Linked DNA regions of Homo sapiens: all the other regions are linked to region 5. Evidence: promoter capture Hi-C in 16 types of primary human blood cells and fetal thymus (Javierre and others, 2016). All regions are on one chromosome and are shown on one strand. Each heading gives the region's core, a stretch centred on a gene start or on the middle of the fragment in contact. The rest is flanking DNA. Distances are from core to core; before and after follow the strand shown. Region 1 overlaps HERC1 (HECT and RLD domain containing E3 ubiquitin protein ligase family member 1). Region 2 overlaps HERC1 (HECT and RLD domain containing E3 ubiquitin protein ligase family member 1). Region 3 overlaps HERC1 (HECT and RLD domain containing E3 ubiquitin protein ligase family member 1). Region 4 overlaps HERC1 (HECT and RLD domain containing E3 ubiquitin protein ligase family member 1). Region 5 holds the start of DAPK2 (death associated protein kinase 2).

Evidence for each region. Contacts are between HindIII fragments. The CHiCAGO score rates a contact against its expected background, and 5 or more counts as called.
Region 1: a contact is called between a fragment that was not itself captured here and the fragment with the promoter of DAPK2 in region 5, in 9 of 17 cell types (megakaryocytes, M0 macrophages, erythroblasts and 6 more). The highest score is 7.0, in megakaryocytes.
Region 2: a fragment that was not itself captured here is called in contact with the fragment with the promoter of DAPK2 in region 5 in 16 of 17 cell types (total CD8 T cells, megakaryocytes, M1 macrophages and 13 more); the score reaches 15.2 in total CD8 T cells.
Region 3: a fragment that was not itself captured here is called in contact with the fragment with the promoter of DAPK2 in region 5 in 14 of 17 cell types (total CD8 T cells, M1 macrophages, M0 macrophages and 11 more); the score reaches 9.5 in total CD8 T cells.
Region 4: a fragment that was not itself captured here is called in contact with the fragment with the promoter of DAPK2 in region 5 in 13 of 17 cell types (activated CD4 T cells, M1 macrophages, endothelial precursors and 10 more); the score reaches 9.0 in activated CD4 T cells.

Annotation. Positions count from the first base shown.
Region 1 is chr15:63,729,830-63,734,601 of GRCh38, forward strand. HERC1 (HECT and RLD domain containing E3 ubiquitin protein ligase family member 1) reads right to left here. Exons shown (of 78, transcript NM_003922.4): 14 at 3,095-3,316. Among named protein-coding and RNA genes, the nearest start is that of HERC1, 100 kb to the right of the region's middle. The HindIII fragment of the contact is 7,228 bases long and covers 1-4,772 here.
Region 2 is chr15:63,743,408-63,748,781 of GRCh38, forward strand. HERC1 (HECT and RLD domain containing E3 ubiquitin protein ligase family member 1) reads right to left here. Exons shown (of 78, transcript NM_003922.4): 11 at 4,317-4,451; 12 at 3,511-3,676. Among named protein-coding and RNA genes, the nearest start is that of HERC1, 88 kb to the right of the region's middle. The HindIII fragment of the contact is 5,044 bases long and covers 1,270-5,374 here.
Region 3 is chr15:63,764,005-63,768,853 of GRCh38, forward strand. It overlaps HERC1 (HECT and RLD domain containing E3 ubiquitin protein ligase family member 1), which reads right to left. Exons shown (of 78, transcript NM_003922.4): 3 at 92-187. Among named protein-coding and RNA genes, the nearest start is that of HERC1, 68 kb to the right of the region's middle. RefSeq lists enhancers at 1,128-1,885, 2,701-3,201. The HindIII fragment of the contact is 482 bases long and covers 2,118-2,599 here.
Region 4 is chr15:63,780,273-63,785,375 of GRCh38, forward strand. All of the region lies in intron 1 of HERC1 (HECT and RLD domain containing E3 ubiquitin protein ligase family member 1), which reads right to left. Among named protein-coding and RNA genes, the nearest start is that of HERC1, 51 kb to the right of the region's middle. The HindIII fragment of the contact is 2,717 bases long and covers 2,214-4,930 here.
Region 5 is chr15:64,044,948-64,049,657 of GRCh38, forward strand. It overlaps DAPK2 (death associated protein kinase 2), which reads right to left and starts at 1,538. Exons shown (of 12, transcript NM_014326.5): 1 at 1,351-1,538. RefSeq lists silencers at 1,172-1,391, 1,422-1,481, 1,502-1,711. The HindIII fragment of the contact is 10,777 bases long and covers 1-4,710 here.

The sequences.
Region 1 (4,772 bases), core at 45-2,544, 320 kb before region 5:
CTGGCCAACATGGTGAAACCCTGGTCTCTACTAAAAAATACAAAAATTAGCTAGGCGTGGTGGTGGGTGCCTGTAATCCCAGCTACCGGGGAGGCTGAGGCAGGAGAATTGCTTGAACCCCAGGAGGCAGAGGTTGCAGTGAGCCAAGATCACGCCATTGCACTCCAGCCTGGGCGACAAGAGTGAAACTATGTCTCAAAAAAAAAAAAAAAAAAAAAGCATTATATCCTTTCTCCCATTACCAATTTTTAAGTATTTGCTATAACCCTTATGATACTAGCTATTAGATGGTAAAATTCATCAAGCTACTTCTATTTGTTTTTTCCATTAAAAAAAAAAAAGCAGCTGGGTGCGGTAGCTCACACCTATAGTCCCAACACTTTGGGAGGCCGAGGTGGAAAGACTGCCTGAGGTCAGGAGTTCAAGACCAGCATGGGCAACACAGCAAGACTTCACCTCTAAAAAAATTTTTTTTTTTAATTAGCTGAGCATGGTGGTGCACACCTCTAGTCCCAGCTACTTGGGAGGCTGAGGTGGGAGGACCACTTGAGCCCAGGAGTTCGAAGCTGTAGTGAGCTATGATGGTGCCACTGCACTCCAGCCTGGGCAACAGAAAGCCTGTCTCTAATAAAATTAAAATTAAAATTAAAAAAGAGATATGACAACTAAATACAATGTGTGATTCTGGACAAGATCATGAAGAGGAAGGGCTGGGGTCAGAAACTGCTATAAAGGACATTATAGGGGCAACTGTAGAAATGTAAATGTAGACTATATATTAAATAACAGTTCTGTATCAATGTTAAATTTTGTGAATTCAATAATTATTCTCTTGTTACATAAGAAAATGTCCTGGTTTTTTAAAAATACATACTTAATATATGCTTAAATACTTAGCGGCAGCCAGCCATCTGCAATTTACTCTCAAATGATTTAGAGAGAGAGAACAAATTTGGCTGAAGAGCACAGGGGAATTCTTTGAATGATTCCTATAACTCCTCTGTGAGTTTTAAATTACTTCAAGTTAAAAATATTTTTTAAAAAGAGATGCTTTGTATATTTAGAAAATATCAAAACTCTATTTTAAAAAGTTAAAAGCACCATTTAAACAACTACTCAAAGAAAGTGACTGCTACTATAATATTTTTTGGTGTATTTCTTTCCTTTGTCCTTTTAAAATATTTTTCATAATATTGTACTGCATATTCTATTTTTGGTCTGCTCTTTTCCAATGGAATCATAAATGTTTTACACATTTTCATAAACCATGTGTATATAAAATATGATAAAATATTCCATTGAACACATGTACCATAAATTACTTAACCACTCCTCTATTTTTAGATGTTTCTGTTATTTCCAACTTTTTTTCCTGTAAATAATCATGTGCTGAATATCTTTAGGCAGAAAATTTGGTTTATGTGTACAATATACAAGACAATATGAGAACACTGTAGGGCCCTTGCTCTAAGTTGTTAATTAGGACCATTATTTTAAAATCTTAGAACAAATTTGGTTTAAATCACATCAGAAAGAGACAATAATTTATTATTTCTACCCAAAAGCAGTTAGTATTTTATTTCCATTTCCATATAATATATAAATCTGCCTTAGCCCTAATATTCCTTTCAACTTTGTTGTAACATTCCTTATAACTTTGGGAAAAATTTTTGGTCATTAACAAATGGCTATATACACAATATTGTTCTTATCCATTTGCAGCCATTACTCCTTAACATCAGATTAAATTTACATTTTTAAATCTGAAAGAAAAGAATTTTGTAGGAAGAATGTTCACTCTGACTTAGTGATCAGCCTTTCAATGTGGGCGGGATAGAGCACTAAGACTTGTATTGGAAGAAAAAGAGTACGTAGACCAGACCCTGAAGAGCCACAGGAAACAATATTAATTGATACACAAACAATTCAAAGTTAAGTTACACAGTACACTCTGATCCTGTAAGTGCTGATGAGTACAGAGATGTGTAGCTATATGCATCTCTGGCTAGATGGGGTTATTTGGGCAAGGTTTCCTAGAATAGTCAAGTCTTACATCACAGATTGGTAGAGAAAAACAACAGGAAATACGTGTACAATGTACAATTCTGGAAAAGGATGATTTCAGATAAGAATGGTGTGTGAGCCGATGATAAAGGGTCTGAAGGGTGGTGGTGGTGGTGGTGTTGTTTTGAGATGGGGTCTCGCTCTGTCACCCAGGCTGGAGTGCAGTGGTGCGACCTCAGCTCACTTCAGCCTCTGCTCCCTGGTTCAAGCAACTCTCCCACCTCGGCCTCCTGAGTAGCTGGGACTATAGATGCCAGCCGCCACGCCTGGCTAATTTTTGCATTTTTAGTAGAGACGGGGTTTCACCATATCGGCCAGGCTGGTCTCAAACTCCTGACCTCAGGTGATCCACCCAACTCGGCCTCCCAAAGTGCTGAGATTACAGGCATAAGACACCGCGCCTGGCCTGAAGGGGTTTTAATTTAATACAAAGAAGTTGTATTCTTTAATATAAAGAAGTTATTTAATACAAAGTTATTCCAGCAGTAAGATGCTGAGAAGAAACCAGCAATAGTGACAATAGCTATAACATTATTAGCACTGAATCATAATGATCTGGCTTAGAACTCAAAGAAATGGCAGGAAAAAAAGATGAATTTAAGAAACACTAGAGATTTAGAATTAATGGCATACTAATACAGGGAAAGCTATAGGGTCCACTGTCCTCTATCCTACTGACCAACCTATTCTCATTCAGTTCCAAGTACATTGTTTCATTATAAGATTATAACTGGCAAGGTTAATCCCTTGCTCATTATTCTTCTCTCTAAAAATGTTCCTATTTTATTCTGTTTATTATTCTACAATATCAGAAAAATCTGGTAAAATTCTAAAATAAATCCCTTTGAAATTCTCAATTACATGTTATTTTGTCCCCACAATATTTCAGAAACCCTGACATGTTTTTCCCCTTGGGGGAGAGGGGTCTAGAGTTTGATTTCTATCATAGGTGTTTAAATGTCAAAATACCTTGACTAAAGAGATCCCTACCCCTTTATTCTTTTTTTACTACAATGAAAGAACAACTTACTGTATAAAATCCTAAATTTCTTAAGAGGGTCTTCATCAAAATTTCAGCCAGGTGGGTATCTGGATGGCAGCTCTGAGTGCCGTAAGGTTGATCTGACAGATTTCCGTAGCCAGTACACACAGAAGATAGGTCAGCAGCATCAGAGGGTGAACTATAGCCAAGTAGGGAGGCTACGTGGGTATGATCTTGCAAACTTGTCAGGATGATATCCAGTTGCATTCTCTAAAGAACAATAAAATAGGAACAAGTAACTAGCGTAATATGCACTAGAAAAGAACACAAAAGGATCCCAGAAAAAAACTATACTAATCCACTTACTAGCTTAATAAATAATCATCTTCAGGAAGTACATAATTATAAAAACTACCCAATTAATCCCATTTAGGAAATGGGATTTAGGAAAATGCAACTTACAGGTTTTTATTTCAGCCTTCATTATAATGCCTAAATCTCTAAGCTAACATGGCATACTATGCATAATGATTTTAGTACTGTAAGTAGAGAGGAGTACGAAATGCCAATAGATAAATAATATGACACATGATTCTACAGTGTGACATTACCAATGACAATTACTTATTCTAATGTTCAAAATAAATCACTTGAAATCTAAACTAATGCAAAATACTCATTAAAAATCATCTGTAGGCTGGGCGCAGTGGCTCACACCTGTAATCACAGCACTTTGGGAGGCCAAGGCAGGTGGATCCGCTTGAGTCCAGGAATTCAAGACCAGCCTGGGCAACATAGCAAAACCCCCTCTACAAAAAATACAAAAATTAGCTGAGCATGGTGGTGCATGCCTGTAGTTTCAGCTACTCAGAAGGCTGAGGTGGGAGAATCACTTGAGCCCAAGAGGTTGAGGCTACAGTAAGCCATGATCGTGCCACTGCACTCCAGCCTGGATGACAGAGCAAAACCCTGTCTCAAAAAGAAAAATAAAAAAATCACCTATGGACCAGGCATAGTGGTCTCATGCCTATAATCCCAGCACTTTGGGAGGCCAGAGCAGGAGGATCATTTGAGGCCAGGAGTTCAAGAACAGCCTGGGAAATACAGCAAGACCCCACCGCTATAAAAATAAGAAAAAAAAATTAGCCGGGTGTGGTGGCACGTGCCAGCAGTCTTAGCTACTCCAGAGGCCAAGGCAGTAAGATCCCTTGAGCTTAGGAGTTCAAGGTTAGAGTGAGCTATGATTGCACCACCCTACTCCAGCGTGGATGACAGAGCAAGACTCTGTCTCCAAAAAAAGATTTAAAAAGAAAGAAAAGTATCAGTAAATATTACACTGCAAATAAGTACCAATTTTTTTTCCTCAAATCTGTATCTCTGAATCTGATAACTTCTACTTGGTTGAGCAAAATGTACTATTTTAAGGTATATAAGATAAAAATGGAAAGAAAAGTATACTCATATTATCAAATACTTTTTCCTAATAGTCATCTATACTCTTTATACAAACGATTTCAGACAAAGTTCTCAGCATGGAACCAACAGTAGCACATACACTTGATTTCAACTCAGCATACTACAAATAAACCACAGAGTGTCTGGCTTAGTACCATAAGAAACACTGGAAAAATTAGTCCTTATTTTAATAATTAGCCCCAAATAACTTAATAAATTATCACTTGCTTCACCTAAGGTTGTTAAGACAACTGGGAATTCTTCCAGCACA
Region 2 (5,374 bases), core at 2,542-5,041, 300 kb before region 5:
TGTGCCACCACATCCAGCTAATTTTTTTTGTATTTTTAGTAGAGAAGGGGTTTCACCATGTTGGCTAGGAATGTCTCTATCTCTTGACCTTGTGATCCACCCACCTTGGCCTCCAAAAGTGCTGGGATTACAGGCGTGAGCCACCATGCCCAGCTCACTAAGTCTTTCTTCTGCCATCAATTCTGGTATTAAAGGATTCTGAGGCATTCTTCAAAATGTCAATTGCATTTATCAGCTCCAGAATTTCTACTTGATTCTTTCAAATTATTTTAATCTCTGTTAAATTTATGTGATAGGATTCTGAATTCCTTCTCTGTGCTATCTTGAATTTCTTTGACTTTCCTCAACAAAGCTATTTTGAATTCTCTGTGTGAAAGGTCACAAATCTGTTTCCCCAGGATTGGTCCTTGGTGCCTTCTTTGGTTCATTTGGTTAGGTCATGGATGGTGTGGATGCCAGTAGATATTGAAGAGTTAGGTATTTATTGTAGTCTTCACTGTCTGGGCTTATCTGTACCCATCCTTCTTGGGCTTTCCAGATATTTTAAAGGACTTGGGTATTATGATCTAAACTGTATCTACGTTGTGGTTCTTGCAGCCTCATAGAGGTACCACCTTGATGGTCTTGGACAAGATCTGGGAGAATTCTCTGGATTATCAGGCAGAGACTCTTGTTCTCTTCCCTTACTTTCTCCCAAACAGACTGTGTGTGTGTGTGTGTGTGTGTGTGTGTGTGTGTGTGTGTGTGTGTGTGTGTGTCTCTCTCTCTCTCTCTCTCTCTCTCTCTCTCTGTCTCTCCTCAGCCACCTAAAGCTGGGGGTGGAGTGACACAAGCACCCCTGTGGCCAACACCACTATGACTGCACTGGGTCAGACCTAAAGCTAGCACAGCACCAGCACAGCACTGGGTCTCACCCAAGCTTGCCGTAACCACTCCCTGGCTATTGCCTATGTTCGCTCAAGACTCTGTGGTTCCACAATCAGCCAGTGGCAAAGCCAGCCAGGCCGTGTCCTTCCCTTCAGGGGGAGTGAGGTCCCCCAAGCCTCAGGTGGGTCTAGAGGTGCCATCTGGGAGTCAGGGACTAGAGTCAAAAACCTTAGAGGTCTACCCAATGTTCTATTGTACTATGGCTGAGCTGGCACTCAAACCACAAGACACAGTCTTTTTCACTTGTGCCTCCCCTTTCCAAAGCTAGAGGAGCCTCGCCCCATAGCTACCACCACCCCAGGCCACAAGGAGTATTGCCAGACAAGCACCACTGTTCCCTTAAGCTTAAGGCCCAGGGATTCTTAAGTTAGCTTATGGTGAATACTGCCTGGCCTAGGTCTCACCCTTCAGGGCAGTGGGTTCTCCTGTAGCCCAGGACAGGTCTAGAAATGCCATCTAACAATCAAGTCCTGGAATCAGGGATCCCAAGAGTGTATTTGGTACTCTGTCCCTCCATGGCTGTGCTGGTACCTGAAGCCAGAAAGTCTCAGAGGCTCACCCAAAGCCCTTGACATAGCAGCTGGGTATCAATGCTGGTTATTCACAGCCCATGGGCTCTTCGGTTAGCAGGTGATGAATGCTGCCAGTACTGAGTCCTTTTCTTCAAGGCAGTGGGTTCCCTTCTGGCCTGGGGCATGTCTAGAAATGTCATCTGAGAGCTGGCATCTGGAACAGGGAGACTTGCGACTCTGACTGGTCCCCTATCCTGCTGTGACCAAGATGTTATCTAAGACACAAGACAAAGTCCTGCCCACTCTTCCCTCTCAAGTGGAAGAAAGGGGTCTCTCTTGGAGCCACGAGCTGTGTAGCCTGGCATTGGGGTCGGGGAGGCGGGGGGTGAGCCAACACTCCCTTGGTTACCCCAGCTGGTGTCTCAGTATGTCACCTGCCCCTCTGTCCACTGTCTCTGGGACCAGTTCAGCACTAGGACTCGCCTAAGAGTTGCAGTCCTTTTGGCCTAGACTGCCTTTCAAGTTTACTTGGAGACACAGAGCACTATAGCCCTCAGTGGCAAGCCTTGCAGGAATTCAAATTTGGATCACTGGGATCAGCAGTTCCCCTCTGGCTAGGGTTGGTTTAAATGCTCCCTCTGTGCACAGGTGTCAGCTGAGTTTGGTCCAGTTCTCCTTTCTGCTCTAACAGGATAGCATTGAGTTCAATGCCTCACAATTGTTGTGTTCTCCCTCCCCAAGCACCCAGAGACACTCTCTGCACCATACTGCCACTGCTGCAGGGGGAGGAGTGGCACTGCCTATTCAGGACTGTTTTTTCTATCTCTTCAGTGCCTCTTTCAGTGATATGAAGTTAAAACTAGGTACTGTAAGTGCTCACCTGATTTTTGGTTCTTATGAAGGTGGTTTTTTCTGTGTAGAGTTGTTAAAGTGGTGTCCTTGGCAGGGGGAATGATCAGTGGAGCCTTCTATTCCACCATCTTGCTCTGCCTCTCAATTTCCCTTTTGATTTCTGTAGGGTCAGTAGTAATATCTTGTCTTTCATTCCTGATTTGAGTAATTTAAGTCCTCTCTCATTTTTCTTGGTCAGTCCAGCCAGAGGTTTGTTGATTTTGTCTTTTCAAAGAACAAACATTTAGTTTCCTGGATCTCCTCAATTGTTTTTCTGTTCTTTATTTTTTTAATTTCACTCTAATCTACATTAGTTCCTTTTTTCTACTTGCTTTGGGTTGAGTTGACTCTTCTTTTTCTAATTTCTTAAGGTAGAAGGTTAAATTACTGATTCGATATATATTTTTTTTAATATAGATGTTTATAAGCTATAAATTTTCCTCCAAGCACAGCTTTAGCTGCATTTCATGAGTTTTGGTATGTTAAGTTTTTGTTTTCATTAATCTTAAGTATTAAATTTATCTTGTAATTTCTTTCTTTGATCCACTGATAATTTAGGAGTGCACTGGTTTAAAAATTACTGTACTTTCTATTATTACCTACCAAAAGAGTTTATTTTCTGTATTTTGTATTACAAATATATAGATATTTTTAAGTTTCCCCCAAATTTAACATTGTATTATAATACTAAATATGTTTTTTTAAACTATACTCTCCTTATTTATAACCAGTATTCTATTCTAGGCCACTTCTTCCTCCTTAAGCTGACCTTTCTCTCCTTAGCTCTGGTTACAGTTCTAGTAGATGATCCAGTCCACTTATTCAGTTACTACTACTGACCAAGCCATGCCCTAGGTCCTTGCCCTCAGGAACTCATCTTCTGGTGAAAAAAGAGTGACATGTTTGTAAATAAGCAACTAGAATACAATGTGATGTAATGAGAACATATACAAGAAAAACCAAATCTGGTGGGAGAGCAGGAATAAAAAGTTTATCAGAGATGGCATCTGACCTTTGTCTCAAGGATGAGTTAACCAAAAATACTCTCACCAAGAAAACAGGAGTAAGGGAAACAACATCCAATTGAAATTGTCCAATGTACAGTTGAATATATTGTATAGCTAAAATCTCAGAGAAAGACGTGGTTTGAGATACAGATTCACAAGTCCTATTCTCTTACCTCTTGGATTTCATCTGGGACAGTTGAGTCCATCAGTCTGAAGAGCAAATTTCGAAGTGGACCTGCCTGCCTCCCGAGAATGCTGGTAGCTACCCCTCCCGCAAGTGCAAGAGCAAGGTGATTTGAAAGTAGCTTCAGGCACAGCTTGAGAAAACTGTGGTGTTCTCTGAAACCAAATAAACGTCTATGAATTCTCGGATCATAAAAGTGCCTGTGCTATCCAGTTTGGGTAACATTTTTATATCTTTAAAAATTTTGTTGGCTAGGTGCGGTGGCTCATGCCTGTAATCCCAGCACTTTGGGAGGCGGAGGTGGGTGGATCACCTGAAGTCAGGAGTTAGAGACTAGCCTGGCCAACATGGCAAAACCCCGCCTCTACTAAAAATACAAAAATTAGCTGGGCATGATGGCGGGTGCCTGTAATCCCAGCTACTCAGAAGGCTGAGGCAAGAGAATCACTTGAACCTGGGAGGCAGAGGCTGCAGTGAACTGAGATCATGCCACTGCACTCTAGCCTGGGCGACAGAGCAAGACACCATCTTAAAAAAAAAAAAATTTTGTCAAGTCATGAACAACAGTAATTTTTAAAACATGATTTGTGAAATTACAAGTAACTTTTTCCTAGAAGTTATTATCAACAAGTATCTAAGTTTAGCTCTTTTCTAGATTATAAAAAAGTTTCATATAATTTGGGAAACCAAACAAGAAAGAACAGTAAGTCAAAACTCAAAAGGAATAATTTATACACATGCACACACGCGCGCGCACACACACACACAAAGATACAAAACATACATATAACATACCTTGATGAAGGGAAAGGGAGTGGGGGAATCTCACTGTTTATTTTATCACAGTATCTCTCAAGAAAAGAACGCAGGTGTGAGAAGGTACTCTCTTCAAGATCTACACAATAAGGTCGGTGCCATGCAACAACTTGTCTAGAAGGACACATAAGAAAATAATAAAACAGTCTTAAAATGAAATTTTTATGCACGATCAAAAACGAAAATTAAAACATATATTGGCTGGGCACGGTGGCTCATGCCTGTAATCCTAGCACTTTGGGAGGCCAAGGAATGCAGATTACCTGAGGTGAGGAGTTCAAGACCAGCCTGGCCAACATGGTGAAAACCCATCTCTACTAAAAACATAAAAATTAGTCGGGCATGGTGGTATATGCCTGTAGTCCCAGTTACCCAGGAGGCTAAGGCAGGGGAATCGCTTGAACCTGGGAAGCAGACACTGCAGTGAGCAGAGACTGTATCACTGCACTCCAGCCTGGGCGACAGAGTGAGACTCCATCTCAAAAAATATATATATACATATATACATTAAAGCTGAATGAGTTCAACAAGATACAAAGAAGACATTACTGATTATGAAAGTGATAAAACCTTTCATTTTAGCAACTAAGGAAAACCAAGAATTTGCCATCTTTAAGAAGAAAACATACAACCACCACCTGTTTTGGAAGGTTTGGATGTCCACTCACCTGAAAGCAGAGGGCTGAGTCACATGATCTACTAAAGCCCCTCTGGTTCTAAGAGTCCAGAAAATATATATTTCATATTAAGAAAAATATCCTGACTCTATAGAGTGATATACTGAAATCTATTAAAAGACAAAATCCTGAAATTTCTTGTTAATACTTTTCAGTTCTTGGGACCCAACTATCTACATATGAAGTGGGAAGTTGGAGATGTAATGCTAATAGCAAATTATTTATATTCAACTTATTTATTTTGGCTTTTGTGTTAGAGGAATAACTATTGATAAATATTTTTAATTGGTTAGAGTATCATTTTAAAACCCTGAGTCAAAGGCATAGAATGCAAATAAAATACATTCTAAGCTATAAATT
Region 3 (4,849 bases), core at 1,109-3,608, 280 kb before region 5:
CCAGAGAAAATGGATTATTTTTAAGGGATAAATACATGCCATAGCATTTTAACACAAAGTTGTTAATACAAAAGCCACGATTATTACGTACCTCTTCAAAGAGACATAATGCTGCCTCGTAAAGGGAGCACAAGCCATCCGATGTTCTGGTTGGTTCTCTCCACTGACTCCGATCAGCAGATGAACCCTATAATTAAAACATTGCGGGACACAGCGTAGGAAGGGGAGAGACATATGCATTAAAATTAGTTAAACAGTCTACAAAAACAACACCTATTTGAAGACCTGTTTATATAATTATGTGCACTGAAACCAAATCCTAACATTAGGTCATGAAACTAACTTTTGCAAGGAAGTTTTATTAAACGAGCTGGCTACTGCATCACATGATAAATTAAGTGCCAATCCCTCACTGATTACCTGATTAAAAAGTGATTTATTCCAAGGGACACAGGGCTCTCGAAACAATCAAGGAAGTGGAATTCTGCCAGTTACACACTCTTTGGGTGACCAGTATCCAGAAAATGTGGTCTCAGGAAATACTCCCCATGGGTATATTGCCCACCTGCCTTCCACCTGACAGAATACAGCCAGCTTTAGTAATGACGTGACCAAAGCAGCAGAAAGTCTGTCCCTCCCTTCTTAGTTTCACCACAACCAAGGTCCCAGTGTTACAGTGTTACAACCCCCACCACCAGGTATGTCAGGTGACCATCAAGTGATGGTCAGGCAGTGGTTAACTGTCTCTCTAAAACAATAATTGACTGCAGCCAGCACCAGGGAAAGGCAGTCTCCCAACAGACAGAAAAAAACCCTGAAACTTGTGATCAGCAACTTGCTAATAAGATCTCAGGAGCTGGGTGAGTGGGATCAAGCATGCACATTAAGAGGCAAAATGGAGGAGTTTAACTGGTATATGACCTTCTAGGGTCTTGCTCTGTTGCCAAGGCTGGAATTCAGTGGCAAAGATTATTGCTGTGAAAAGGAAATAAAACCTTGAGACTCCAATTCACCCTGACAAAAGAAAAAAATTAAGCTGACGGCTGACTTATGCAAGAAGCTGCCTTTCCTTTTGTTCCGAAGCAGATAGCTACAGATGAAAGGGTGAATATCCTCATAGGTAACTACTCTCTGTTCACCTTATCTTATATAAAATGCCTATCTACTGAGCGCCAGAGAAATACATAATTCCACTATTCTGCTCCTTTTCTCTTGCAATTTGTGGATTCAGTAATGCGACCATACCCTCCTTTGTTCTCCTCCAGCCTGCTTACCCCCTTTAAATAGTGAAGCCCTCAATATCACCTTTGGAAAAAGGCACAGATCTGTGTAAACCAAAAATAAAATTCAAAGGCCCCCAGCAACCATCTGAATGGACTCCCTCCTATGGGAGGGCACTCTAAAATTTAACCTGAAGAACTGATTCAGGCCAGGACGGGAAGTGGGAGATCGGACATGCCTCATTATATCCATCCAGCGTTAACATCAATACTGATCTTAAGTCTAAAAAGAAACATTTACAGTCTATTCTCTCTAAGCCTGCTACTTGGAGGCTTCATCTGCATGATAAAACCTACCTCTCCCACAACTCCTTATTGTAACCCACACATTCCACTAACTCTTTCAACGAACGGCCAATCAGAATATGTTTAAATCTACCTATGACCTGGAAGCCCCCCACCTCGAGTTATCCCATCCTTTCAGATCAAACCAATAAGATCTTACATGTACTGATTGATATATTATGTCGCCCTAAAATGTATAAAAGCAAGCTGTACCCCAACTGCCTTGGGCACCTGCCACCAGGACTTCCTGAGGCTGTCACAGGCATGTCCTTAACCTTGGCAAAATAAACTTTATTTTATTTTTTTGAGACTGTTTCGCTCTTGTCACCCAGGCTGGAGTGCAATGGCTTTCTAAACTGATAGAGAAAGATCAATTTCTTGTCTCAGACACTTCTTGGTTTACACTCATCTCCCAGGCATTGTCCTTAACCTTGACAAAATAAACCTAAATTGATTTGCGACCTGTCTCAGATAGTTTTTGGTTTACATAACTCACTATAGCCTCAACCTCCTGGGCTCAAGTGATCCTCCCACCTCAGGATCTACTAATAAAGCTTATTATTAAGGCTTATTAACTATTAGTAAATATTAAAATGTATTTATACTATTAATATAATCATAGAGGTCAAACATTAACTTCATCAATATTAATCCGATTAATTTGATTAATACTAATTTATTTATGTTATATTATATATTAGTAATTAATTAAAATTAATATCATTAAAAGCATATTAGCCAGGCACAGTGGCTCACACCTGTAATCCCAGCATTTTGGGAGGCTGAGGTGGGCAGATCACTTGAGGTCAGGAGTTCAAGACCAGCCTGGCCAACATGGTAAAACCTTGTCTCTACTAAAAATACAAAACTTCTCAAGGTATGGTGGCATGTGCCTGTAATCCTAGATACTTGAGAGGCTGAGGCAGGAAAATCGCTTGAACCCAGGAGGCGGAGGTTGCAGATCGCACCACTGCACTCCAGCCTAGGTGACAGAATGAGACTCCGTCTCAAAATAAAAAACAGCACATTAATAAAGCTTATCAACTATTAATGAAGCTTACTTAGAATTTTTTAAGTTTCGTAATACATTAAAGGTTAGGGGTTTTTTTGTTTTGTTTTGTTTTTGAGACAGAGCTTCACTCTTGTTGCCCAGGCTGGAGTGCAATGGCACGATCTCGGCTCACTATAACCTCTACCTCCCAGTTTCAAGTAATTATCCTGCCTCAGTCTCCCGAGTAGCTGGGATTACAGGCATGAGCCACCATGCCCAGCTAATTTTGTATTTTTAGCAGAGAAGAGGTTTCTCCATGTTGGTTCAGGCTGGTCTGAAACTCCCAACCCCAGGTGATCTGCCCACCTGGGCCTCCCAAAGTGCTGGGATTACAGGCGTGAGCCACCATGCCCAGCCTACACTAAAGTTTTATAGGTTTTTCATTTGTTTTTTTTTTTTGAAATGGAGTCTTGCTCTGTTGCCCAGGCTGGAGTGCAGTAGCGCAGTCTCGGCTCACTGCAACCTCCACCTTCCGGGTTTAAGCAATTCCCCTGCCTCAGCCTCCCAAGTAGCTGGATTACAAGTGCACGCCACCATGCTTAGCTAATTTTTTTGTATTTTTAGTAGAGACAGGGTTTCACCATGTTGGCCACACTGCTCTCGAACTACTGACCTCAGGCAATCCACCCGTCTCGGCCTCCCAAAGTGCTGGGATTACAGGCGTGAGCCACCGCGCCTGGCCTATAGGTTTTAAGTTGCTCTATATATTCATCTGTCCTCTTTCTATTCCATCAGGTAAATAAAACAATGGTGAACTTTTCATCAATCTGTATCTACTGGGCAGATAAACAATAAATAATACTTTTAAATAAAAACAGCAAATATCCCCAGCACTTTGGGAGGCCAAGGCGGGTGGATCATCTGAGGTCAGGAGTTAGAGACCAGCCTGACCATGCTGAAACCCCATCTCTACTAAAAATACAAAATTTTAGCCGGGCGTGGTGGCGGGCACCTGTAGTCCCAGCCACTGGGGAGGCTGGGGCAGGAGAATCACTTGAACCCAGGAGGCGGAGGCTGCAGTCAGCCGAGATCGCCCCACCGCACTCCAGCCTGGGAAACAAGAGCGAGGCTCCGTCTCAAAAACAAAACAAAACAGCAAATATCTTGCTACCCTCAAATCAATGAAATGTCAATCACTTTGGAGAGTTCTCCGAAGAGCTGAGTATTACATGGCAGAACTTTTTTGTCATCTAACAAGTTCTCCCTCTGCCTTCAAAAGCTGCTATGATGAAGTCCATGTGAATGACTTTCACACCACTCTCCTCACCCCAGCAAAGCTGCAGAGAAGTTTAATCTTCAGTCTCTTCATATAGCTTCCTTTTCTCCAAGATCTTTATAAATTTACTATGTAAAGCTTCCTGTTGTCATAGTCTCCGTTATCGCCCCACCCCATTAATAATCATTATTCTTAATTATTCTCTTCAGCTGTTCCAAATCCCTCACTTCTCAGATAGCTTTCAATAACTATGATAGCTAATCAGAGCCTTCCAATCATAGCACATTGCTCATCGTCTTCAGATCTCTGATTCTATTCGACTGTTTCTCTTATTGCTGGGTCATCTGCTATTAACCTGCTGCTGCCAAGTCAGTTTTTCTTTTTAATTATTTAGGATGTTGCTTCTCAAATTTCAATGTTGACACGAATTACCTGGTGATCTTGTTAAAATACAGATCCTAATCAGTAAGTAGAGAAGAAGCCTAAGATTCTGCATTTCTAACAAATGTAGGTGATGCCAGTGCTATTGTCTGTGGCTCACACTTTGAGTAGTAAGGCTTCAGAGTCCAGACTCAGGTATGGAATCATATCAGAAGCTAAGTGTTTAAAAGTAACTAGTCCCTAGACATACAATGTGTTGCTACAACAACAAATACTTGGTTGCAACCTCTCCAAATTCCCTAGTTAGCTGTGAAGCATTTCTGAGAAAAATCGCAATTGTGATCTGTGGCTTCGTTATCTAAAAGCCAACTCTAGTGATCACCAAAACAAAAACAGGTAAGGAGTAGACTGATGTACCTTTCTAGGAGCTGGCACCAGGGCCATCATGATCCCTCTTTTATGCCTTTCTACAGTATGGAGAAAAATGTTGAAAACAGCATAAAGTTTTTAGTGATAAACTTGGGTTTAAATCTAGGCTCCATCCCTTACTGGCTCTTACTGAAAGGGTCTCATCCTGAGATGGGAATGATGCCCACAACATTTAGAGCTGTTACATAATTAACTGAAATTATGTGT
Region 4 (5,103 bases), core at 2,322-4,821, 260 kb before region 5:
TCATTTCCATTTCTGGTTAATTACTGCTGTCTAGTCATCTGGGTAAATCCATATATTTTCCAAAATTATACAAAGACAGAACAGGAAATGAATCAAAGAAACAGAGGCCATCTAACAACAGGAAATAAAGAAAGAAAACAAGCAAGTATTAAAAAGGTAAAACAGAAGGCCGGGCGCGGTGGCTCATACCTGTAATCCCAGTACTTTGGGAGGCCGAGGTGGGCGGATCACGAGGTCAGGAGATTGAGACCATCCTGGCTAACACGGTGAAACCCCATTTCTACTAAAAATACAAAAAAATTAGCTGGGCGTGGTGGTGGGCACCTGTAGTCCCAGCTACTCGGGAGGCTGAGGCAGGAGAATGGTGTGAACCCGGGAGGCGGAGGTTACGGTGAGCCAAGATCGTGCCACTGCACTCCAGCCTGGGCAACACAATGAGACTCCGTTTCAAAAAAAAAAAGGTAAAACAGAGACTAAAGGTTAGCTGTAAGACCGAGCACAGCTACTACATCAACATCTGTAAAATTCACCTATTAAAACCAAAAGATAAAGACTGATGTGAAATAATAATAACCTATATGCTAACTGAATAAAACATATATGAAAGTAGTTATGGCCCAAAATTTATAATCTCTGCTATAAATTAAATGTATATAACTATAAATCTAATAAGTAAATCATTTTTTAAATGTATATCCTAAGTGATGGATCTAAAACAAGTGATTTCAAAATGTTGAAGATAAAATGTAGGGTAATGATATAACAAACAAATGCAAACAGAAAAAGTATCATCTGTTAGGTAATAAATGGGACAAAAAGGGTTACTTGGTAATGATGAACAGTATAATCACTAATAAAACTGTCACAAACAGTTTTATTTTACTACAAGCAGAGTTATAAAACAATGAAGCGGAAACCACAGAGAATATAGGAAGAATGGCAACCACAGTAATAGAGACTTAAATACAGCCATACCTCATTTATTGCACTTGACTTTACTGTGCTGTACAGATACTGCATCTTTTTTACAAATTGAAGGTTTATGACAACCCTCATTTGAGCAAGTGTATTGGTGCCATTTTTCCAAAAGTACGTGTTCACTTCATGTATCTGTGTCACATTTTGGTAATTCTTACAATATTTCAAACTTTTCATTATTATTATAACTGTTATGGTAACCTGTAATCAGCAAGCTTTGATTGTTATTATTGTAATTGTTTGGGGGTGCCACAAAGCACACCCATATAAGATGGCAAACTTAATCGATAAATGGTACGTGTTTTGACTGCTCTACCAACCAACCATTCCCCAGTCTCCCTACCCTTGGGACTCCCTATTGCCTAAGACACAACAATATTGAAATTAGGCCAACTAATAACCCTACAATTGCCTCTAAGTGTTCAAGACAAAGGAAGACACCATGTCCCTCACTTTAAATCAAAAGCCAGAAATGATTAAGTTTAGTGAGGAAGGCAGGCCAAAAGCTAAGCCTCTTGCGCCAGTTAGCCAAGTTGCAATACAAAGGGAAAGTTCTTAAAGAAACCAAGAAAGCCACTCCAATGAATACATAAATGATAAAGAAGTGAAATCGCCTTTTTCCTGATATGGGGAAAGTCTGAGTGGTCTGGATAGAATATCAAACCAGTCACAATATTCCCTTAAACCAAAGCCTAAGCCAGACCAAGGCCCTCTCTTCAATTCTATGAAGGCTGAGAGAGGTAAGGAAAATGCAGAAGAGTTTGAAGCTAGCAGAGGTTCACTCATGAGGCTTAAGGAAAGAACCTGTCTCCACAACATAAAAGTGCAAGGTGAAGCAGCAAGTGCTGATGTAGAAGCTGCACAAAGTTATCCAGAATATCTACCTAAGGTAACTGATGAAAGTAGTTATATTAAACAACAGATTTTCAATGTGGACAAAACAGCCTTCTATTGGAAGATGCCATCTAGGACTTTCATAGCTAGAAATAATTCAATACCTGCCTTCAAAGGACAGGTTGAGTCTCTTGCTAAGGGCTAACGAAGCTGGTGGACTTAAAGTTGAAGCCAATGCTCTTTTACATTCTGAAAAACCTAGGGCACCTAAGAATTATTATAAACCTACTCTCCCTGTGCTCTACTAATCCAACAACGAAGCCTGGATGACAGCACATCTGTTTACTACACAGTTTACTAAATATTTTAAGCCCACTGTTAAGACCTACAGCTCAGAAAAAAGCTTCCTTTCAAAACATTACTGTTCACTGACAACGCACCTAGTCACTCAAGAGCTCTACTGGAGATGTACAAGGAGATTCATGTTGTGTTCATGCCTACTAAACACAACATCCATTCTGCAGCACATGGATAAAGAAGTCATTTCTACTTTCAAGTCTTAGTATTTAAGAAATACATTTTGTAAGGCTATAGCTGCCACAGATAGTGATTCCTCTGAGATCTGGGTAAAGTCAATAGAAAATGTTCTGGAAAGGATTCACCATTGTAGATGCCATTAAGAGCATCCATGGTTCATGGGGAAAAGGCCAAAGTATCAATATTAACAAGAGTTTGGAAGAAGTTGATTCTAACCCCTACGGATGACTTTGAGAGGTTCAAGACTTCAGTGGAGGAAGTAACTGCAGACGTGGTGGAAATAGCAAGAGAAGTAGAATTAGAAGTGGAGCCCGAAGATGTGACTGAATGCAGCAATCTCATGATAAAATTTTAACGGATGAGGAGTTGCTTCTTATGGATGAGCAAAGAAAGTAGTTTATTGAAATGAAAGATATTCCTGGTGAAGATGCTGTGAATATTACTGAAATGACAACAAAGGATTAGAATATTACATAAATTTAATTGATAATGCAGTAGCAGAGTTAGAGAGGACTGACTCCTTTTGAATTTTGAAAGAAGTTCTACTGTGGGTAAAATGCTATCAAACAACATTGCATGCTACAGAGAAATCATTCATGAAAGGAGGAGCCAATCAATGCAGCAAACTTCACTGTTGTCTTGTTTTAATAAATTGCCAAAGTAATCCCAACCTTTCAGCAACCCCCATCCCGATCAGTCAGCAGCCATTAACATCAAGGCAAGACCCTCCATGAGCAAAAAGATTACAACTCTTTGAAGGATCAGAGGACTCTCAGCATTTTTTAGCAAAAAAAAAAGTATTTTTTAATTAAGGTACATACATTGCTTTTCTAGACATAATGCTATTATACACTTAACAGACTACAGTATACGGTACACATAACCTTTATATACACTGAGAAACCAAAAAAACTGTGTGACTTGCTTTACTATGACATTGGCTTTATTGTGATTTATTTGCTTTACTGTACTTTTCGCTTTATTGCAGTGGTCTGGAACCAAACCACAGTATCTCTAAGGTATATGCCAGTACTTGACAAATAAGGCAAAGTACAACAGTATATAAACCACCAGTCCTTAAATCTATTGGTAGACCATGAATTCCTTTGAGAATCTGATAAAAGCAGTAGACCGTGACTCCCCAAAGAATAAAACTCATGATCGGGCCGGGTGCAGTGGCTCACACCTGTAATCCCAACACTTTGGGAGGCTGAAGCGGGCAGATCTCGAGGTCAGGAGATCAAGACCATCCTGGCCAACATGGTGAAACCCCGTCTCTAATAAAAATACAAAAATTAGCTGGGCATGGTAGTGGGCGCCTGTAATCCCAGCTACTCGGGAGGCTGAGCCAGGAGAATGGCTTGAACCCGGGAGGCAGAGGTTACAGTGAGCCAAGATTATGCCACTGCACTCCAGCCTGGTGACACAGGAAGACTCTATCTCAAAAAAAAAAAAAAAGAATAAAACTCATGCTCATACTCATAAAAATGAGCAAATTTCCAAAGGTTTCATGGATGTCCTGAAGTCATCTATGTAATCCAAGATGATAAATCTAATCTAAAATATTATCCATATCCTAAAATATGTTCTTTTTAAGTACCAGTGGAAAATATTTTCAAATTGACTATTATCTAACAAATAATTCAAAAATATACACATAATTATAGACCACAGTTCTAGCCAGAAAGTAGTGAAACCAAAAAGAATTCACAAAACAACTAAAATGGAGCAATCTCCAAGATACACTGTTAAAAAAGAAAAATATGTAAAGTATTTGTGTATACTGTAATAGTTCATATACAGTAACATAACTATATTAAAAAGGGTTTAATAATAAATGCTGAAAACATTTTTTTAAAACCTAGGAACACTAGTTGCCTCTGGGAGAAGGAGAATTGGGTTACTGGGAGCTGGGGTAGGAAAGATATTTGCTCTTCACTGCATAAATTTGAATTTCTTATATATGCATGTATTATCATGCAAATTTTTTTTTTTTTCCTTTTTGAGACAGAGTCTCACTCTGTCACCCAGGCTGGAGTGCAGTGGCGCAATCTCGGCTCACTGCAACCTCCGCCTCCCAGGTTCAAGCGACTCTCCTGCCTCAGCCTCCCAAGTAACTGGGACTATAGGTGGCTGCCACCGCATCCAGCTAATTTTTTTTGTATTTTCAGTACAGTTGGGGTTTCACTGTGTTGGCCAGGATGGGCTCGCTTTCCTGACCTCAGGTGATCAGCCCACCTCGGCCTCCCAAAGTGCTGGGATTACAGGCGTGAGCCTCTGCCCCTGGCCTATCAGTGCAAATTTTCAAAAAGCATTTTTAAAGAAATCCAAAACAAGGCAAAACCTAAATTTTTGGAAACTAAGTTTCTCAGACAAAGAGAGGAAGGGGAAAGGAGTTACAAATTATCTAGAAAGTTATATAAAAGAAACATATATCAAAATCAAGGGAATGTAGTCAAAGTTGACTCAAATAAATATATAAAGACTCAAATGCTCCATTTCTAAGTAAGAATTAACTGAAAGCCAGGTGTGGTGGCTCACTCCTATAATCCCAACATTTTAAGAGGCCAAGGTGGGAGGAAGCTTTAGGCCAGGAGTTCAAGACCAGCCTGAGCAACATAGCAAGACATTACCTTGACAAAATGTTTAAAAATTATCTGGGCATGGTGGTACACGACTGTGGTCCCAGCAACTTAGGCTTGGGTGGGAGGATCGCTTGAGCTCAGAAGTTCAAAGCTGTGAGCTATAAGTGCA
Region 5 (4,710 bases), core at 288-2,787:
TTACAGAGCTCCTCTCTACATTCCAGGCTTTGACCCATCACAGTCTCCAATGAGGAAGCTGGGGCCCACAGAAGGTCAGCCACCTGCCTGAGTTGACACAAGAAAAACTTGGTCTCTCTGGCAAAGATCCAGCTCCCTTGGGAAGCCTGCTTGTTCACCCCACAGCTAACAAATCGGGAGGCCTCAAGGAGGTGGGCAGGGTCAGTGCGGGTCTCATTCCTGCCAGCCAGGAACTTACCCCAGAGGAGCAGACCTCCAGCCACATCCACACACCCCTGACCCCTCTGCCCAAGTCTCCTCTGAAGGTGCTGAATCATCAGTGGTGCCACTTGAGGGTGCTCAAAAAACATCTTGGGAGATGAGCGGTTTGGGGAAGGACAGGGCTGTGAAGTTAGCTGTGAAGAGGCCAAGGCACCACGGCCTCTTAGGTCAACAGGACTCTCCCAGGAATATCTTCCACAGAGGCAGTTGGGAGTCGCAGTGTCAGAAACCAGAGTGGCTGCCCTCCACAGGATTCCAGGATACAAGATGTCAGGCGCTGTCCCTGCACCTGCCCGCTTGCCCCCGAGGCAGCCAGCTATGGTGCCCTCTCCTCCAGTGTGCACCACTGCCTTACCATTACCTGCACGGCCTCAACGAGGCTCACCTCTCTGGACCTTGTTTTCTCTTTTGTAAAGTAAGAATACCAATTTCCACCGTGCAGAGTTACGGTGAGGGTTAGCCAGACCTATGCAAGCCTTGGGACCTCCAAAATGCCTAGCCCAGAGTCCTAGTCAACTGTTGGCAACGCCCTTCCAAGCCGTTCCACCCCAACCTGCAGCACACCTGCTGGCCGCCCCCACGCCCATCCTAGCTCTACCCCAGGCCGGGGCGCCTGACGGCGGGGACCCCAGCTTCATTCAGCCCCAGAGGAAGCTCAGACATCTGAGCACCCTCCTCGCATCACATCCTTGTGCCAGGCGGGAGCAAGAGGTGAGAGAGTCAGCCCAAGCTGAGAAGACTTGGCCGGGAGCCGGGCGTGCTCTGCCCGTTCCAGGGGGCCTAACTCGATGGACGTCTGTCTCCCATCTCCCTGCTGGGTGCTTGGCTCTGCCCGCCGCCTCTACCCTGTCTCCCAGGTCAAAGTGCCAGGCTCCGGAGGGCGCCCCAGGGCAGCGGCGGGCAGCTCCCGCGCTCGGGTGCCGGCCACAATGCCCCGGGCCACGGCGTCAGGCATTGGGGCGGCGGGCCCGGGATCTGCGAGCGAGTGCCCCGGATCTCTTCGCCCCGCCAGCCCCAGACCCGGGCGCTGCTGCCGTCAGGCCGCGCGCCCCGTCCCGCCCATCGAGCCCGCAGACGGGTGCTACTCACGGCGGGAGGCTGAGCTGCCGCGGTCGCGGCCGCGGCAGGCGCGGCGGGAGCGGCGGGCGCGGCGGGCGCGGCGGGCGCGGCGGGCGCGGCGGGAACGGGGGACGCGGCGGGGTGCGCTGGGCTCGGCCCTGCAGTCCTCTCCTCCCAGAGCGCCCGGCACCCGCCCGCCGAGCAGCCTAGGAGCCGAGGGGGCGGAGCGGCCAGCCCCGTCCCAGGCGCCGGCTGGAGGCGCGCCCGGCTGCCCGGGACGGGGCTCGGGGCGCCCCCTGCTGGAGCCCCCTCCGGACAGTCCCGGGGCGAGAGCCCAGCTTCCCGGCCGGGTAGGGGACACCTCAGGGCTCCCAGACTCCCGGGAGAGCGGGGAGAGTCGGTAGCAAGACCCTCTGCGCGTCCCTACCGGCTCTACCGCGCACATGCTGCGTGGCCTTGGGCAAGTCGGCTACCCTCCCCCGGCCTTATCTGGAAATCGATTTGAATGAGCTTATACGTATGACATGGTCTGGCACAATCCTCAGAAAATGGTACTTGTGTGCTCCTCTCCCCACCATACACACCGTGAGCGAGGAAGCCCCACTGAGGAATAGGCCGTCTCCTCCCTCCCAGCCAGAGCGCTCCCTACACCGCAGACTCTCCTGGAAACCTCAAGCCCACAGCGTACAGCAAGGTGGGGGCTGCGATGAGAAGGGCCGCTCTGCTCCTCACTGCCCCCGACCCAGCCTGAGAGCGGCCTGCCCTCGTTTGCCCTTTGTCCTGGCACGGTTGCTGAGTGAAGCCCCCCTCTCACCATCACGCCTTCTCTAATAGAGGACTTGGGAATGGGTTCCTCTCTCTGCCCTCTGCCAAAAAATCCCTGAGGAAAAAAGGAATGAGAGTGAGGGGGTGAAGGGAGGAAGGAAGGGAAAACAGAACTTAAGCCAAGTTCATTTGTCTTATTTCAAAACAAGAGGCTGTTTAGAGGAAGCAAATGAGGACCCCTCCAACCCCTGGAATTTCCATCCCTAAGTCACCCATGGGGCTCCTCAAAAGGGCCTTAGATTCAGAGTCCTACCACCAGGTTCAAAGCCCTGCCCTGCCACTCCGCATGTGTGTTCTTGGGCATGGCTCTTTCTTCATCAGTAAAGTGGGAGAAACGCACCTTCCGGTAGCTCCTAATGAAGCTATGGTGGGGCTGAGATGAGATGGAGTGTGTAAGATGCACCTAGAGGACCTCTACCAGTGTGAGCACACACACACCCTTCAGCCTTTTGGACATTGGGACAAATACAGATGGACCCCACCCCCCAGCTGAGCAGTGCCTCCGGGTCCAGGACATCCTCGGCAAAGAGTTCCTTGTTTATAAACTTCACAATAATTCAGAACAGTGCAGCCAGCGAGCCTCCTCTCCTAAGAGCAGCATGATATATAGAGTAATATCCAAGACTAGAGGTGGTTTCTGATGTCAACGGACCTAAGGGAATGACACCCACTGGTGAAGTTTCACCAACATGAGAAGTCCCCCACCAAACTATCCCTAAACACCTCTTCCTCCATTTCCATTTACCTATCACTGGTGACAAACCATTACCAGCCTTGGTGGCACAGGACAACAGTTTCACTATGTTCATGCATTCTGAGGGACAGAAGTTCAGACAGCACAGTGTGTATGGCTTATTTCTGCTCTGCAGTGTCTGGGATTTCAACTGGGAACACCTGAATAGCTGGGGGCTGAAATCATCTGGAGATTTCTCCATTCTCATACCCAGTACCTGGGCTGTGATGAATCCAAGGCTGGGCTCAGCTGACCCTGCTGATCACCTACATGTGGCCTCTCCATCTCTTTCCCTTGAGCCTCATGCTTAATACCTCATTGTCAGCAGCAGCAGCCCCTTACATGAGTCAAAAGAGACATTCTTGGGTTTAGCAATTGACAAGTTAGTCAGAGTCCATTGCAGCTGGAAGGGTCATTGTCAATTGACCCTGGCCACTTTTCAGATGAGGAAACTGAGGCTCGGAGAAGGGAGGTGACTTGCCCAACATCACATAGCTGGTGAGAGACAGAGCTAGGATTAGAACCAGGCCTCCTCCAGATTCAGTCTGGTGCCCCTTCCACTGTACCTGCCAGAATGCAACTATCTAGGAAGCTACCATCTGGAGATGCATCTTATGCTTAAGGTTGGGTGAGTTCATCAGACCCTCACCTGAGGGCAGCGACAGGGCACTGAACACAGGACCAAGGTGGCCATCAGCAGAAAAGGGGAGGCCCCGAGGACAGTGGCAATGAAGACACAAATTCCAGAATGAAGCCAGAGGCAGTCCAGGTATTAAGAGCTAAGAATTATCCAACTCAGTTCCAGTCCCTGCATGGTTCCCATGGCTGACCAAATCGAGTGTTAATGCCTCACCCTAGCATTTAAGGCCCCAACCCTTATTTTCCTGCTGTGTATGCACATTCCCTTCCCTCCTCTGCATGCACATCCAGCTCTTTTGCCAGGTTGGATTATTGGCTGTTCCTGCCTCCATGCTTTTGTTCGTTTCCACTACCCTTCATCCCATTCTACAAAATCTTATCTATCCTCTAAGAGCCTTCTAAAGTATCATGTCTTCCACAGAAACTTCCCTGGTCTGCCCTCTAAATACCTCTCTCCTTTGAACCTCACCACTCTTGGTTGGTACATCTCTTGTCATCTTCCTTCCTCTATTTTAATTAGTGTCTACTTCTCCTTTTCTCAAGGGCAAGTACAATTTCTTGTCCATCTTTGAACCCATACAGTGCTTGATATCCCAAACCCAGTAAAGGTTTCTTAAACTGAATTAAGGAAGGTAAATATCACAAGGGGCCATAGCTGTCTTGTTTTCTATTGTCCCCTAAGAGCACCCAAGCACCTGGCACTTAGTAGATGCTCAATAATCTTACTTCAAGTGCTTCACTTCTAGGGGGATGTCATTATCCTCTTTTACAGATGATGTAACTGAGGCTTGAGAAATTTGATTTGCTCAAACTCATCCAATTTGTAAGTGGCTGAGCTGTGACATGAATCTTGCCTACTGGTCTCTGAAGCTATTCCCTCTGCTGCCTTCCCTCAACTGAAACTTCCAAGATTTCTAAAACAGTGTTAATCTGGAACTTTTCAGTCCAGGCAGTACATCAGAATAACTGAGAATAACATGGGGTGCTTAAAATCCCCCATGCTTAGACTGCACCCTACATCAATTACATCAGAACCTCTGAGGATGAGTTCTGGGTATCAGTTTTTGTTAAACTCCCCAGGTGATTCCCAGTGCACAGGTTGAGACCCAGTCTGTTCATGTCACAGAGACCTAGGGAAATTCTCAACCCCCTCAATGACAAACACATCTGAGTACCTGCTTTGTAAAAGACAT